3 separate regions of the Homo sapiens genome follow, and all the other regions are linked to region 1. The links are contacts of gene promoters, found by promoter capture Hi-C in blood cells and fetal thymus (Javierre and others, 2016). All regions are on one chromosome and are shown on one strand. Each heading gives the region's core, a stretch centred on a gene start or on the middle of the fragment in contact. The rest is flanking DNA. Distances are from core to core; before and after follow the strand shown. Region 1 holds the start of CHORDC1 (cysteine and histidine rich domain containing 1). Region 2 overlaps FAT3 (FAT atypical cadherin 3). Region 3 overlaps FAT3 (FAT atypical cadherin 3).

Region 1 (5,044 bases), core at 1,159-3,658:
CTCTGCCTCCCCGGTTCAAGTGATTCTCCTGCCTCAGCCTCCCGAGTAGCTGGGGTTACGGGCATGCGCCACCATACGCAGCTAATTTTTTTGTATTTTTAGTAGAGACAGGGTTTCGTCATGTTGGTCAAGCTGGTCTCAAACTTCTGACCTCAGGTGATTCACCTACTTTGGCCTCCTAAAGTACTGGGATTACAGCCGTAAGCCACAGCACCCAGCCCAAGATAATGGAGCTTAATTAAACTTAACTGAATTGTTTTAAGAAATATTTTTAAATGCAGAAAAAGAGAGTAGTATGATAAACATTCATTTTGCACCAAGAATAATTGACAATTGTTTTAAGTTAACATATTTATTTAAGTCTTTTGTTAATAACAAGATAGTCAAAGTTAAAGCATATTTTGATATGTATGGGGGTAAAGAAGGAAGGGAAGATATATTCAAAGTGTATATAAAATATACATGTAAATTCTAGAAAGTTTTTCAAACAGTGGGTGTTAGTCAGCACTGAAGTGTTGGAATGGAAATGTAAGTGGAGGTGGGATTGAAACAGGCTGTTGCTGTAACACTGTTTTTCTTAATCATAAGAATGATTTAATTTTATAGTTTCTCAAAATACCCAAGGGAGGAACATAAACTCCTATATATAACACGACTCTTTTTAAACATATATATCTATAAATGCTTGGGGTGTCAGGAAACACTGAAAATAAATTTACCAAAGAGTTATTTTAGCCATTCAGTACTTATTGCTGGGTGGTGGAATTATTGTTGACTTTGTTCTTAGTATACTTCTGCGTTTTCCAAATTATCTACCATAAGCAATTATATTCTGATTGTAAAATGCTACAGATGAAAAACTAGAAATAAACATTAAAATTATTTAAAAGGTTTAGTTCACTAACAATCCTGGTAATGTTGCATTGATACTAGGATACTCAAGACAACAGATTTGGTCACAACTAAAACTTTTTAGAGCTCTCCACTTACTCATTTCCAATTGTGTATGATCAATTTCTACGGTCTATTACATTCACAGCCGGTGCAATTGTAAATTGGTACCACCTTTCGGAAAGCAATTGGCTCTATATATCTTTAAAATCTTAAAGTTATTTAAAAAGCCTTATGCCCTTTACCCCAGAACTGTCGCTTTCCAAAAATTTTCCTAAAGGGGGAAATTCGAAATAAGAAAAACAATACACAGGTTGAGCACTGTAACTTATATATAATAAAGTTGGGGAAATTAGAGAAAGGTTAAATTACAGTGCATTTATTCAACAGAATACTCCGTCATTTGTAACAATGACTATGAAACAAAATAGAAAAATACTCACGTTAGGTTAAATGAAGAAAACATACCTATCTATGGTGGATCACAATATGAAAATTTAATACTTCTAGGTAGAAGAAGAGAAAGAGAATATGAAAAACTAAAAAGTCTTTAGGGGTAGGAGGACGTGAGCAGATCTCTAAATAACCTTGAGATCAATGGAAACAGTGTATAGATTTTTAGGTTCACTTATAAGCTGCTGATCTTATTTTAAGATCCTTCAGTATATGTTATCAAAAAGTGTTTGCTTTTCTTGCAAACGCCCATGTTTGGGAAATATGCAAGTTGAAGCCAATGCATTACTGTACTTTTTATAATGCACCTGAAGTTTTACTAGCTGTTCCAAGAGTGGTGTACTGAGTATTGATAAATCGTTTAAGTGGAGGCTCACATGAAATATTAACTATTACCCCAGGGCTTTAGAGCAACTGTGATCAATTCTGGCACAGCATCAGATCCATAATTTTCTTTGCTACTCTGATTTCTACGTTTTTTGTATTTTCAAAGTAATGTGACCGCAACTGTTAAGTTATTAAAATTGCTCCTGAGATGAGGGCACTCGAGACACAAACACACGGAGAGGTTCGTCCGCTATTCCTCTCATTTACTAAGCTCACACGTCTACCCTGAGGATTTGGAAACACTGTATGATTCTGCACTTACTGTGCACTTATCCCTTAGTGCTAAGGGGTAAACAGATACCCACCGGGCTGTCTAAGGCGCAGCCTCAAGGCAAGGAAGAAGGGTGCTGGGTCGCAGGGGATGAGAGGGCGGGGCGGCCACTTTGCTGCAGGAGATACCCAAAGCCAGTTAGCACTGAGGAAGTCAGAAGAGAATTGTCAGTCTCTCGGACACCTTCATTTTCTGCCCCGGAAATTTCTCCTCCGCTGTTGTCTGGGCTCCACTTCCGACCCCCAGTTGCTACCAGCTGTAGTCCGACCTATCGTGGCCCGGGCTAGTGCCAGCCTCCCGCCGCTACCTCCGCCTCGTCCCTTCTCCTCTGCGCCTGCGCGACCGGAAAATTCGCGAAGGTTCCTGAAACGCAACGGATCGTTTCCGGAAGCCGGTAGCCGCCTCAGTCGTCAGACCGGTGCTAGCGACACGGGAGTGGCAAACGCATCCTCTTGCCGTTCCCGGTGTTTGGGCCTTGCCTGTGACGGTGGGAAAAGAAAATGGCCTTGCTGTGCTACAACCGGGGCTGCGGTCAGCGCTTCGATCCTGAGACCAATTCCGACGGTAAGAGGAACGCGCCGCCAGCCCTCCCTCCCCTCCACCTCATCAGCAGGGGAGGCCCTTTGGGCCGGAGGGTGTCCGCGGATCTCCTGCAGCCGTCCTCGCGCGGCCCCAGGTCCATGCCCCTCCTGGGCCTCCCTTGGCTGCCCGCGCAGCCCGCCGGCCGCCCCTCTGTTGCGCCGCGTTCCCTTGGCGAGCGCCCGGCCCCGGCGCCTGACTGTCCTCTGCCACTGCGGAGAGAGACGCTCCCATGGATCCACGTGTTTCCCCCGTCGTCCCCGCACTCCTTTTAAGTCGCCTGGAATTTAGAACGAACACGTTTCTCCTCTGGCCCTCCAGTCTCTGGGGAAGCAAAAATTAACGAGGTACTGGTGAGCTTGCTTTGTAGTTCCCGAAGTAGTGATGGCTGTGATTGCCTGCGCGAGAGGGAGAGGTGGCCGGGATGAGCAGCGGGTTGTCCTAGCATGTAAGCTCTGCCTTGTAGAAGTTTGTGTTCAGTCGATCCGCTGTTACAAACCTCTTACAAGTGTTCTTGGTAAGGGACATTACTCTGTATCTTCACGCTGTTTTGATAGGTTCATCCTGGTGGTACGTTAGTTATCTTTTTATTACTAGCGGCATTTGTTGCTTGTTCTTCTTGTGGCCTCCACGTTTTACTACCATGCCTACTCCCGTATAAAATGAGTGAATGTCATCTACAGCACCTAGATGTCGAGTTAAGGATCCAAAGCGAAAATGACTATTAGGTGAAGGACGGGAAATGATCAGTGAATTGAAATTTTGATTGACAAAGAAGTGAGATGATTCCTTGCGTATCGTGAGAAGTGACAACACGTTTTCAGATTGAACTAGCATTTAGTTTATATTTTCTGCATGCCAGCCATTATTGCTTTATCTTATTTAATCTTCATAACCACCCTGGGACGCATGTAATGTTAATTAGACCCATTTGATAGAGAAGCTCAGTTCAATGAGGTTGTATTAATAACATCCTTCATTATTGTGGAGGAGATGAAAACTGATGCCTTTTGAACTCTTCACCTCTGAGATGTTTGAAATACTTATTTTTGGCACACAGGTAAATTGATAGCGTTATTTAAAATAAGACCATTGATACAGAGTTTTAAGGAAAAGGAAAATCCAACCTATGCAATACTCAAGTTACCGCCACTGACATTTTTATGATGCAAATATGATGCTACTCATGAGGAAAATTGTGAGATTTCAGTCGATGACAAAATCGAGAAACGATTTTAAAGCCCTTTGGTGTTGGCAGCCTATGTAAAACATTAATTGCACTTATGTCTGCAGATATTCTACTTTAATATAGAATACAGGGGAAAGACTGACGCTTTGCTTATGAGACAATAAAGTTCAGGGGCGATAGTCATTTGTTGGAAGTCTGTATCCATGTGTGAATTGGTGCAGTGCCTAGGAAACAGAAAGCGACCAGGAAAACCGTCTCAAAACTTGGGTGGTCAGCAGTACTAGTTACAGCAGAGAAATTCCAATAAGTATATTTACTTTAGCGAAATGACGGTTTTTTTAGAGACTTAGAATACATTTTTCAAGTAAACTGATTGAGTGAATGGAAGGAGAAGAAAATGGAGATACGGAGTAGGAGACAAGAACTAAATAGAAAGGTTGGTTAGGAGGTTTTTTAGGAAGAGGTTTGACCTTGTACAGTTGACAGAAATAAGTTAAAAGAGGTAAATACACAAGCAAGTTCCATTTTGCGTAAGCCAGATGTTGGATCTGTCATCTTTAAATATTTCTTAATCTACACTAAATGCTTTTTTTCTCGGTGCTGTGGCATAATTACCGTGCTCGTTGACTTATAGTCTCATGATTTTTTTTTCCCCCTAGAGACAGAAATTAGACTCCCTTTTAAGCTGATAGAACGTTTTAACTTGTAACTGAAGTTAAAGGGTGTTTAAGGGAGACACAGTTGGTAACTTACATATGTTAAACACTTATTCTAGAATAAACACAGCTTCACAAACGGTATTTTTTTTAATCGACGTATACGAGGAAAACTGAAGGAACTACTAGCGAGTAGCTCAGTGAGAAATTTAGCCAGGGTCAGACCCAATGTTAGAAGCCCTGGACACTTAACCACTGCTACTGTCTTGTAGCTTCTCACCCATAAAATATTAATTTTGCCAAAACTCTTAAAACTGATAAAGAAAGGATGGATATTAAAGAAAGAATGAAGAATGTCCATTTGCTTGTTACTTCTTGTTTTTGAAAGCAGTGGCTTTCTAATTGTGTTCATGTTAGTTGTATGGTTCAGATCTGACTCATTCCTGCTGCCATGCTGCCAAAATTGACTTATTGTGACATTTTATGCCTCTGACTCTGTTATACATTGCGTTTATGTTTCTGACTACTTTAAATTTGGTGTTTGAAAATACTGGATCTATTCTCTACTTCCATTCCCCTCTCAACTTCATGTCCTTCTGCATACCCATTTCTACTTCC
Region 2 (5,044 bases), core at 1,724-4,223, 2.5 Mb before region 1:
TGCTCCAGTTTAAAGATGATTAAAAATAAAATTTAGAGAACCAGCAAGCATAGATTCCAGTTTGAGTTACTGTTTAAATGGGGCAGTCCAATTTGCTCTCTCTCACTGAATTTGACTCACATTTTCCCCAGGGCCCTGTATAAAAATACATAATCATCGCACGTGCTTAGTGGTATAACATTTACATATGGCATATAGAGTGTGTGCTTTTTCTTAGTCGTTTTTCATATCAAATACCATTTTTGGCTAATTTTATGTTTTTTTTTTTTTTACAGTTCTCTCTCTTCCTGTGTGTGTTCATATATGTATTTGTATGTGTATGTGTATGTGTATATCTCCCTCAAATTCTTTAGAACAGAAACCTCTAAAGGGACAGGGGAGACAGACCAAGAGCAGAGCCAAGAGCATTTGAAGGAGAGCCTACAAACTATGTCTCTCAGCTTACCAATATAGCTAGCAGCCTCGGACACTCATTTCCAGGACATTTGCTCCTAGTTAAACTAAGATTTAATGTAAAACAAAATCTTCCATGAGTTTTAAAATGAATTTCTGACAAGGGACACAGAATCCAGACCAGCAGTTTACCATCAACCCTCACACAATTTAATAACCTACCACTTAAGCATCCCATTTCATAAACGACTCCATATCTCTCCCCCAGGTCTCATTTTTCAGGCTCCCTTTTAGCCTGAAAGTGATTTCAGTTTCATAGGAAACCACGTCCAAATCGTCCAGGGTGAGAATATCAAATGCAAGGAGTCCATTTTCACTAGCAGCATTCCGCTTAAACAAGGTGTGCTTCCTCAGAGCCAGTAACAGAACATGCAAAGCCAGAGTGTGTTCAGTGCAGCAGCGTTAGGCTCAACAAAAGGTGGGGAGGAGGGAGGACACCGCAGAGCTGGTCTGAGTTTCAACAAAATGGGAAATTAGAAAAGCCACAGCCTGAGCGTTGCTGCAGGGGTGTGCGGCAGAGATGGTTAAAAGCGAGGTTGTGAACAGCCCACATAACAGATAATTCACATCAGGGATGTGTCTCTTTGACCATTTTCGGTCAAGACAGGTGTAATAGAGTAAACAAAGAGCAGATGAGGCACAATGGATTTCTATTGGATTCTAAAGTTAAACATCCCAAGTAGGAATGTCCCAAAAGGCTTTAAAGATGGGACATAAATGGAAATATTTTGAGCCAGCAGCTACTGCTTAAATATGCTGGGCATTGGAGCACTGGGCCGTGATTCAGTCTAGTTTTTCTTTAAAGAAGGGTACGAAGCACCTCTGTCCCTCCGTAAAGACACCCAATGGTGAGAATCACACAGCTTCCCCTTTAGAGAGCTTCCAGGTCCCTCCCCTAGCATATGATTCTTTTCCACTCCACATATAATTGTAAAAATACCAACCCACATCTAGTTGTCACCAAGGGGAAGGTGTTATGTGAGCAGCTTCCAGAACACGGAGCTGCCGAACCTCAATGAATTCAGGGAGTTGTGCACAAGCTGTTGATTCAGGTTCCGCATGTACACCGAACTTAAGAAAAAATGCTAAACACCAGTTACAATTTGATCTTGAAAATGCTAAACACCAATTATCATTTTCCCCTAATTTTCTGCCTTGAAATGAAAGCAAGCACAGTACCTGGCTGAAAAGGATATTTACTTGGAAGACAGGGGACACCAGGTGGAGGTCAGGAAAAAGTGGCTGGAAAGAAAATCTCTTCTAGAATCGAGTTTAGGATTCATTTTCTTAAAACTATTAATAGTATATGAAGTGTTTCTAGGCTTCTTCTTATTTTCCTGAAGTTTCTACAGATGTGCTCCTATGGACCAGACTGTTGCTATGGAAAAATGAGAGGCTTATTTGGGATCAAATTAGGGAAAAGGGGCAGAATAGGGGAAATGAAGTGTTTGATGTCAGTTGAATGACTTGGAGCAAGGGTCACCCTGATGAAGGAGCAGCTGTAATAGAAATGACGTATGAATATGGTTTCTCTCCATATCACTGGGTAAGAGTCTTTCGCTAGAGAAATACAGCCACCTGATTAGGGAAGACCCAGAGGTGTCCAAGCTCTAGTTGAAGAACAAGGCTGCTGCTAGTCCTACCAGAGACTTCAATGGGCCTACTTCATTCATCTCTAAATAAGCGATGGCTCCACTGGGGACAAGGTTCAAGAAAGACAGGCAAAAGCTTATGACACAGCAGCAGCCTGGAGCCCAAAGTTTGAAGGAACCTATGACAAATGAAGGGTCAAAGCAGCCTTCCTGCAACACAGAAAGACATTTCAACTGGAGTTGGAACTACGTTCTATCACTCACCAACAGAGAAACATTTTCAAAGAGCAGCCTTACAGTAGGCGAGATAAAGAAAGATATTTTAGGTGCTTACTATTTACAAAGAAAACTATTTTTCTCCCCTAAGTCAGGTGAAAAGCTAAAAAATGGGTGACAGCACCCCCCATCCATCTGCAGGTAAAGAGGAACTGTCTGAGGTGTGTAATAAAGGTGGCCTTCTCTATTGAAATATTTGCCAACAGAATAAAGATACAGGGACTGAACTGTGAACCAGATTGCATGCACATTAGAGAGTCTGTAAATCAAGGAGCTGTGGAGTTGAAATCATAGTCCCCTGAGAAGTGTGAAGATATGTGATAAAGCCACAAAGGATTATGGGTTATTTGTGTTCCCTTCACTTTCTTTCCCTTTTAACACAGAGAAGGAACATGCTGTGCGTTGGGCTGTTTAAACACAGAACAGCTGAACTTTATTATGTTTCCTTTTAATTACAGCTTTCTTAACTCAGTTACAAGTAGGGCTTCTGTTTCTGGAAGCTGAAAAGTCTCACTGCATAATATTGTAAGCAGTGGTCTCCTTGGAGGCACAAGAAAGTGTGTGACAGATCCTCGATGCAAGGGTCCAGGCTTGGAACAAAATCTTGCTTGCTACCCAGCTTTTGTGAATTCATATCATGGTGGGAGACAAAGAAATGCAGTTAAGCAAGAATTGGCTAGATTTGGAAATGCAGAAATGGGGCGACTTTACTCTCAGGGGAAAAGCATGCTGAAACACTATTTCTGCTCACTTAATGAGAATTTATTAGTTATAGCATTAGTAAGCTGTAAGTGTCATGCCAAGATGATGTCTTCTCTGTAACTCAGTGTCTCTTTAGGTGTCTGCAAGCACTGGGTCTATTAATGGAGCCAAATTCTCACTCCCTTGGAAGAGTCATAGAGTATTTACCTAGGCAAGGCCCATACTTATATCTGAGACCTCATTTCAGATCCATGCTGATATTACATACCTAGTGCCTATTCCAGGCATTCACTGCTATGTTTCTTAAGCATTGAGGCGCATTGTTCCCTCTTTCCTCTGTATGTTAGCTTGGCCAAAAAAGATGCTTACGTAAGGAGGAAGGGAACAGAGAGATGAGAGTTTCCATGGCTGAAGATAAATAAGCAGGAAATCTTGAGAGCGAGACTAAAACATCTGAATATGATAAAGGAAACAATAGGTATTTAAAGAAGGGGAAAGATGTTGTCAGCAGATTGAGAAAAAATGACTCTGATGGATTAGAAAGATTTTCAAAAGGAGGATTTGGTGGAACGTGGACCATATCAATACTGAAGTAACCAGCACCTGGGAAAAGGATTTTACTTCTGCGCTGAAATAAAGATTTGGTGTTTCAAGATGTTGTTGGCTGGATGTGGGGATGGAAATAAAATCATGTTCTGTTTGGGCATCTGGCCCAGTAAGTTCAATTTGGAAAAGAAGCTTGGCTAGATGTTACCTGATTTACAGTGAAATCTCTGTGATGGAAGCATCCAGACCAGAGGGACAACCCTGTAGGTCCTCATTCAGAGACCTACAAGTGCACTGAAACTGAAGGCAGTCTCTAGGAAAAGTATAGCATTTAGAAATACACCAATGAAGAAACATGAAAACTGATGCCATGTTCTTGATGATGGATCCTGGGTCTATATTTAAGGTAGCTTAAAGGGACTCCTTCCAGGGAGAGCTCTCATCTGTAAACTGCCTCTCTCTTCTTGGACCAATGATGTTTCTATTTTGTCAAAGGTGCATAGTGTGTAGGTTGCCGTGGCCAGTAGCACAGTGGAAGGTCACACTGACTCTGAGTAGGTTCCAGGAGGCATCAGTAGGGTTAGCATAGTGGCTGCCTGGGGTATCTCCATCATTCACCATAGTTTATTCCACTCATCCTGGGTTGGTAGCAACAGAGGTTTTGGCAGGAGGAAGGAATGAGGACACATGGGCCTTAACCATAGGGGTTAAGAGTGGAGACAGGATAAGCACAAATGAAAACATACAGCAGCACTCATCATGCTGACATGAGAAACTTGCAAATCAGGTTACATGCAGTACTGCTAGGTATGCTTACCTACAGACAGTCACACACACACATGCAGGAATGATGAAGAGTTGCAAGCCTGACCTGGATAACTAGGGTCAGGCAGCTGGTGAGACTGACCATTACAGAAAGGCATGCCAGTAGGATTTCAAAAGCAGAGTACAAGTGAGGGCATCCCAGGGCACATGGGTGGTAGGTGGGATGTACTACGGGTCAGCAGGTTGAGTGCATGGATCATGCCAGGGAGAGATGTGACACTGTCAGGCTGTAGAGGTGCTTGGACACTGGAGTGTTCAAGGAGGAGGGAGAAAAATCAGTGGCTGATGAGAAAGGGCAACTCATCTAATCTCAGGACAGCACACTAGACATTCTGTTGCCTATTCGGTTTCTGCTGCATTCTCCTTTAGGCTTTTTTTTTTTTTTTTTGAGACAGAGTCTTGCTCTGTTGCCCAGGCTGCTGGAGTACAGTGATGCAATCTTGGCTCACTGCAACCTCCACCTCCCGGGTTCAAGCAATTCTCCTGCCTCAGCCTCCCCAGTAGCTGGGATTACAGGCGCCCGCCATCATGCCCAGCTAATTTTTGTATTTTTAGTAGAGATGGGGTTTCGCCATGTTGGACACGTTGGTCTCGAACTTCTGACCTCAAGTGATCCACCCACCTCAGCCTCCCCAAGTGTTGAGATTACA
Region 3 (5,044 bases), core at 1,348-3,847, 2.3 Mb before region 1:
TGATAAATCTGCATAAGCCCGATTTGTTCTACTGGACTTGTTGGATTAAATGAACACAATTTAATGTTCTATAGGACAAGGGCTCCTTTCATGGCTGAAAGAAGGAGCAAGGGTGATTTACAGTTTCACACATACTCATTCGCTACATTATCTGCCTTGTGCCTGTAGTTATGAATATCAACTCATCATCCGGCAGCCATTTCTACCCATTCAGGAGAATTTAGCTTTTTATTAGGAGGGGCTCTGCCATCCCGAAAGAAACAAAGAACAAAAAACAACAATAGATTTCCGCAATGTTCACTGAAAAACAAGCACCAATATTTGGACCCTTGTACCTCACCTTTTTTTTTTTCTTTAAATCCCTATATTTGTAAATAAAGTAAGGTTTCCTCCTCTTTTCCTAGAAAAGGTGGTTTTCTAAGCAGATTACCACCACATGGAACTGTGCATAAACACAAGGCTTAACTTACCTAAGATAACAAATTATTTTTGAACATCCATATCTTATGAACTAACACTTTTTTATAATCATATATTAAAATACAATAATGTTTGTTGATTCATTAAAGTAGGTCTGAACTCCACTTAATAACAAATTCTGCTTGATTCTACCTATTTGGAAATAATACAAGTGTATCCAAACATTACGTGACCCAGGTTTTTTATTAACTACAAGTCTTAGGAATCCATGTGATATTTTGCTCATGGATAGTTAGAGACAGGATTTTCATTTTTCTCCACTTGATAAAAGAGAAAGTATAAGTAAGGATATGGGAGTTGATTTTGGGAGTGGGTGACTGAATTAACTCTCAAACCTCAGCCCCGTAAGATGTTGGGGTAACTCATAAAGTTTGCTGTCTTGTCCTCAGGTGTCTCTGGGCACCTTGTTACCTCCCTCATTTGTTTCATATAGAACCTTGCTAATCAGGCTCTCAGGAGAGAGCAACATCATCATCACCTAGAAACTTGTTAAAAATGCAAATAATCAAGCTCTGGCCTAAGACTCTATAGTCTAGCAAGCTCACCAGGTAATAATTTTCAGGTTGAAGTGTGGTCTGGATTTCTCTCCCTGTTACCCCCTCTCTTATCCACTATGTTGTATACCATATACCAAAAGGCATGCTGATGTTATATGCAGCTGATTAAAAAACTAAAGACATCCAATATTTTAATAAGCTATCTCCTCCAATTTTAATAGAGAAAGGAAATGTCTATCCTAGGAGTAATCAATACTTAAAGGTAGAATTTGAGGTATTCTTACAGCACACACACTTTTGAAGAGGATTTCTTCCTCCTAAGTCGCCTAAAGTGGGGGTAGCCAGTCTACCAACACATAAACTATGTTTTACTCAGGTTTATTTCAAGATGCTCACAGAAAGCAAAAGAAAGCTGAACTTCACCTCTACTCAAATACAAGTGGAGATGCCAGTGAATGGAGCATGGGTCAAAGGGAGACAGAGCAACTGCAGAAATAAACTTAGAAATTCCATGCCCTGGACAGTGAACCATTGAAAGATCTGGATTAAGCAAAAATCACTTTCACAGGCAGACTCTCAATGCAGCATATGCTAATCCTGGATCTATGTTTTACAGACACAAAAGAAAGAATGAAGGGGTCTCTTTTATGTATGTGTTTTTCCCTTTAAAATAATTCCTTTAAGAAGTAGGTCTCTCAGAAGGAAGATTGGAAAAAACAAACAAACAAAAAAAACAAAACAAAAAAAACAAGGCCCTTTAAAATTTAACTATTATCAAACTCAGAAACAAATGAAAAGAGATGTATGTATTTGCTACTTCTAATATCTTACCACTTTCCTGACATTTATGACTCTTAAAATTCGCTTTCTAATAATATCATGCCTCTCAAGCTATCTGGTAAGCTTCACTTGTTTATATTCCCTGTATAGTTATCTGGCCTCTGTCTCTGCAGGTCAGCCCATTCTTCAGGCCCCCTTCAGGTCCGCAAAGATCCCCTGTTACTCAGCTCTGCTCTGACATGTTACACTGTTCATAGCTTATAATCCACAAAGCTCCACTCTTTTTTTGTTTTGTTTTGTTTTTGTTTTAAATAAGCTGCCTTAAATGGTAAGTATGATGGTTCTGTTTTTCCTATGAGACTAAATTCCCTGAGTGCAGAAAGTATCTTCCAATGTATTTCTGTTATGTCTCCCACCCTGCTGACACCTGGGGTCTAGATCAACGGTACGTCATGCACTTCATAAAACTGAGTTGAAGATTTCAGTGCTACCTAGCAATTGCTAAGGCAAGACATGGCTGCCTTTCAGAAATGTCTTCCTCAAGATAGTGGGGTCCAGGAGCAGTGTGCTTGTAGCTTACACAGACTTTTTTTCTAGGGGGAAATACGGGATGATGATGATGATCGTAATAGTTAACATTTATTGAGTTCTCTACTAAACACTGGCATGTCAGCCCTGTACTATGGGGTTTCCATGGTGTAAACATGACTAAAATAAACCTTCCAAAGCCCTAGAAGAAATTTCCACCCCTGCTCCCCACTTCAGCCTGGATGACCAATGAGGGCCACCCTGGACTCCCTCAAAAGAACTGGAGGCCGGGCACGGTGGCTCACGCCTGTAATCCAGCACTTTGGGAGGCCAAGGCGGGCGGATCATGAGGTCAGGAAATCGAGACCATCCTGGCTAACACGATGAAACCCCGTTTCTACTAAAAATACAAAAAATTAGCCGGGTGTGGTGGCAGGCGCCTGTAGTCCCAGCTACTCGGGAGGCTGAGGCAGGAGAATGGCGTGAACTCGGGAGGCGGAGCTTGCAGTGAGCCGAGATCGTGCCAATGCACTCCAGCCTGGGCGACTGAGCGAACTGGAAGGAAGCAACATTCCTGCTCACCCAAAGAGGCAAGTGAACACCGGCCTGATGGTATCTCCACCTCAGACATGGGGGTAGGCTGCATTTGATTGAATTTAACTGCTTGGCCTGGAATTAAGCAAGAGTTCTCTGTACCGGCCAGAAAAAACCACACAGCATTACAGCTTTTGTTTTCCTTAAGCCACAGGAATTACTAAAGAAAGTCCACAGACTACTGATTCTACGTGATTCTAGATGTGGTAGAAAAAAACCCAGTTATTTGTGTAGAGAACAGATGTTCGATAAAGAAATCTCTCTCCATTTTGGGGTTGGGAACATCTGTTATCTGCTACAAGCTGTATATCATACATCTTGGCATTATTTGCGTTGGCGTTAATCATTTTAATCTTTATTATGTAGCACATTGCCAAAACAAAACCAAATTCTAAAAATTCCAACTGTACAGCAGAGGAGGAAATGAAAGCTTAGTTTACTAGAGTCAACATCCATTTGAGAAAAAAATCTAAAGCATAAATCTTTCCTAAATATACTGGTTAGTATGCCTCTGTCTATGTATCTATGTATCTATCTATGTATCTATCTATCTATCTACACACTGGTTAGCTACACATCCAGCTTCATTACTGAAAAATGTTATATTGATGTAACTATTTCAGACAAATGACTTTAGAGTCAGGAAGAAATGCCAAAAATTAAGACTTCTATTAGAGAGTTCCTTGAGCTGGCTGAAGGTTGCCCCCTAGGCAGCATGATACTTAGAGCAACACCATTAACAAGAATTTCACCAGACTTGGAGTTCTGTGAATCTCATTAGAAATAGGCATAACATGACTCTTACAGAACTCTGTAGTTTACCAACAGCCTTCAAACACATCATGATGACATTCAGACTTCATGAGCAACCCTTGCAGAGTAAGCAAGGTCATTTTCATTTTCCAGATAAGTAAGTGAGGTCCAAAGAGATTAAATGACTGTAACTACAGTAAAGTAGTTAGAATGGGGTATCAGCTTTTTTTGTGGGATTTCAATGCACCAGGCACTGTGCAAAGGATTTCTGGTGAGGACTCCTATATTCCTTGCAACTATTTTTACTCACTAAAAACTACATTTAAGAGAGGTTCAATAATTTCCCCAAGGTCATGAAGCTGGTAAGTTCATGAAGCTGGTGAAAACTGTGCAATACAGTCTGTTTCCCCCACTGTGTTCTATGGTGTTTCGTAGTTAGAAAGCACAGAGCAAGCATTTGAAACTCAGGACTTCTAACTCCAAATGTGACTTCCTCCATGAAGCCCTCCCTGACCATCACTCCCACCAACCCTATATTGAGTGAAGCTCCCCTGCTGGAATCATTTATATCTTTAGCTATATCATAAGTATTTGTTAAGTTCATATAAGTTTGGGTCCCTAAGGCTGGGACCATATCTTAAGTTTATAACCCTCTTTATTAGATCTTACTTGAAAAGTAATAGGTACAATAAGTGGTTGGTGATTGAATAAATGGATAAAAAAGCAGTATTTTCTTATCATGTGTCTGGAAACTACAAGGTATGCTATATATTTCTTTAGACAATTAGATCAGTTGGACAAAAATGTCATTCCTGGCAAAAATGCTTTTTAAAAATCTATGGCAAGAAGAGAGAAATTATGAACATGCTTAAGGATCTTATTAGCAACGTAGGCCAAATAGTGATAAAACAGGGCTTTCTGAAAAATTATGTTCAAACTTTTAAAAGCCATATAAAAGAAAGCTTTAGTTACATGAATGAGCATGTTCTTCTCTGAACTTCACATCCAACCCAAATTCTTCCCTCTTCCCTGTGACAGTTATTTTTTCTATTCATTCCTAAGTAAAGGATGAGAACAGAGAAAACTTCCCTTTTGCAGCTTTTTATTAAATTCTTTAAAAAAAGGGTGCTGGGCCTACCATTAATGACTCAAGTAGCAATGGGATCAAGATGGAAGAAGCAGAATCTGACTGGGGTATTTCAGGCTCCACTGGGTTGTGAAATGTGAAGATACCTGTGGCCTCAACTTCTTTACTGTGACATTGTTTGTTTTTGTTTTTGTTCTCTCTCTCCCTCCACCACAACCCTCACTCTTAAATTTGCAAAGTGATTGAATTCATTTCTCTGTGGCTATGTTCTAAGGAGCTCTTTGCCATACCAAAAAGTAAATCAGGAGGGCTTCCCAGGAAAGTT

The links. Contacts are between HindIII fragments. The CHiCAGO score rates a contact against its expected background, and 5 or more counts as called.
Region 2: a fragment that was not itself captured here is called in contact with the fragment with the promoter of CHORDC1 in region 1 in 2 of 17 cell types (M2 macrophages and fetal thymus); the score reaches 8.2 in M2 macrophages.
Region 3: a contact is called between a fragment that was not itself captured here and the fragment with the promoter of CHORDC1 in region 1, in 1 of 17 cell types (naive B cells). The highest score is 7.1, in naive B cells.

What each region holds. Positions count from the first base shown.
Region 1 is chr11:90,220,413-90,225,456 of GRCh38, reverse strand. CHORDC1 (cysteine and histidine rich domain containing 1) reads left to right here and starts at 2,408. Exons shown (of 11, transcript NM_012124.3): 1 at 2,408-2,566. The coding sequence starts at 2,503. LOC124902812 (a long non-coding RNA gene) reads right to left here and starts at 2,298. Exons shown (of 2, transcript XR_007062978.1): 1 at 2,037-2,298. The HindIII fragment of the contact is 11,072 bases long and covers 1-5,044 here.
Region 2 is chr11:92,766,990-92,772,033 of GRCh38, reverse strand. The region is part of intron 6 of FAT3 (FAT atypical cadherin 3); the gene reads right to left. Among named protein-coding and RNA genes, the nearest start is that of LINC02746, 150 kb to the left of the region's middle. The HindIII fragment of the contact is 1,580 bases long and covers 2,184-3,763 here.
Region 3 is chr11:92,526,211-92,531,254 of GRCh38, reverse strand. The region is part of intron 3 of FAT3 (FAT atypical cadherin 3); the gene reads right to left. Among named protein-coding and RNA genes, the nearest start is that of FAT3, 300 kb to the right of the region's middle. The HindIII fragment of the contact is 1,429 bases long and covers 1,883-3,311 here.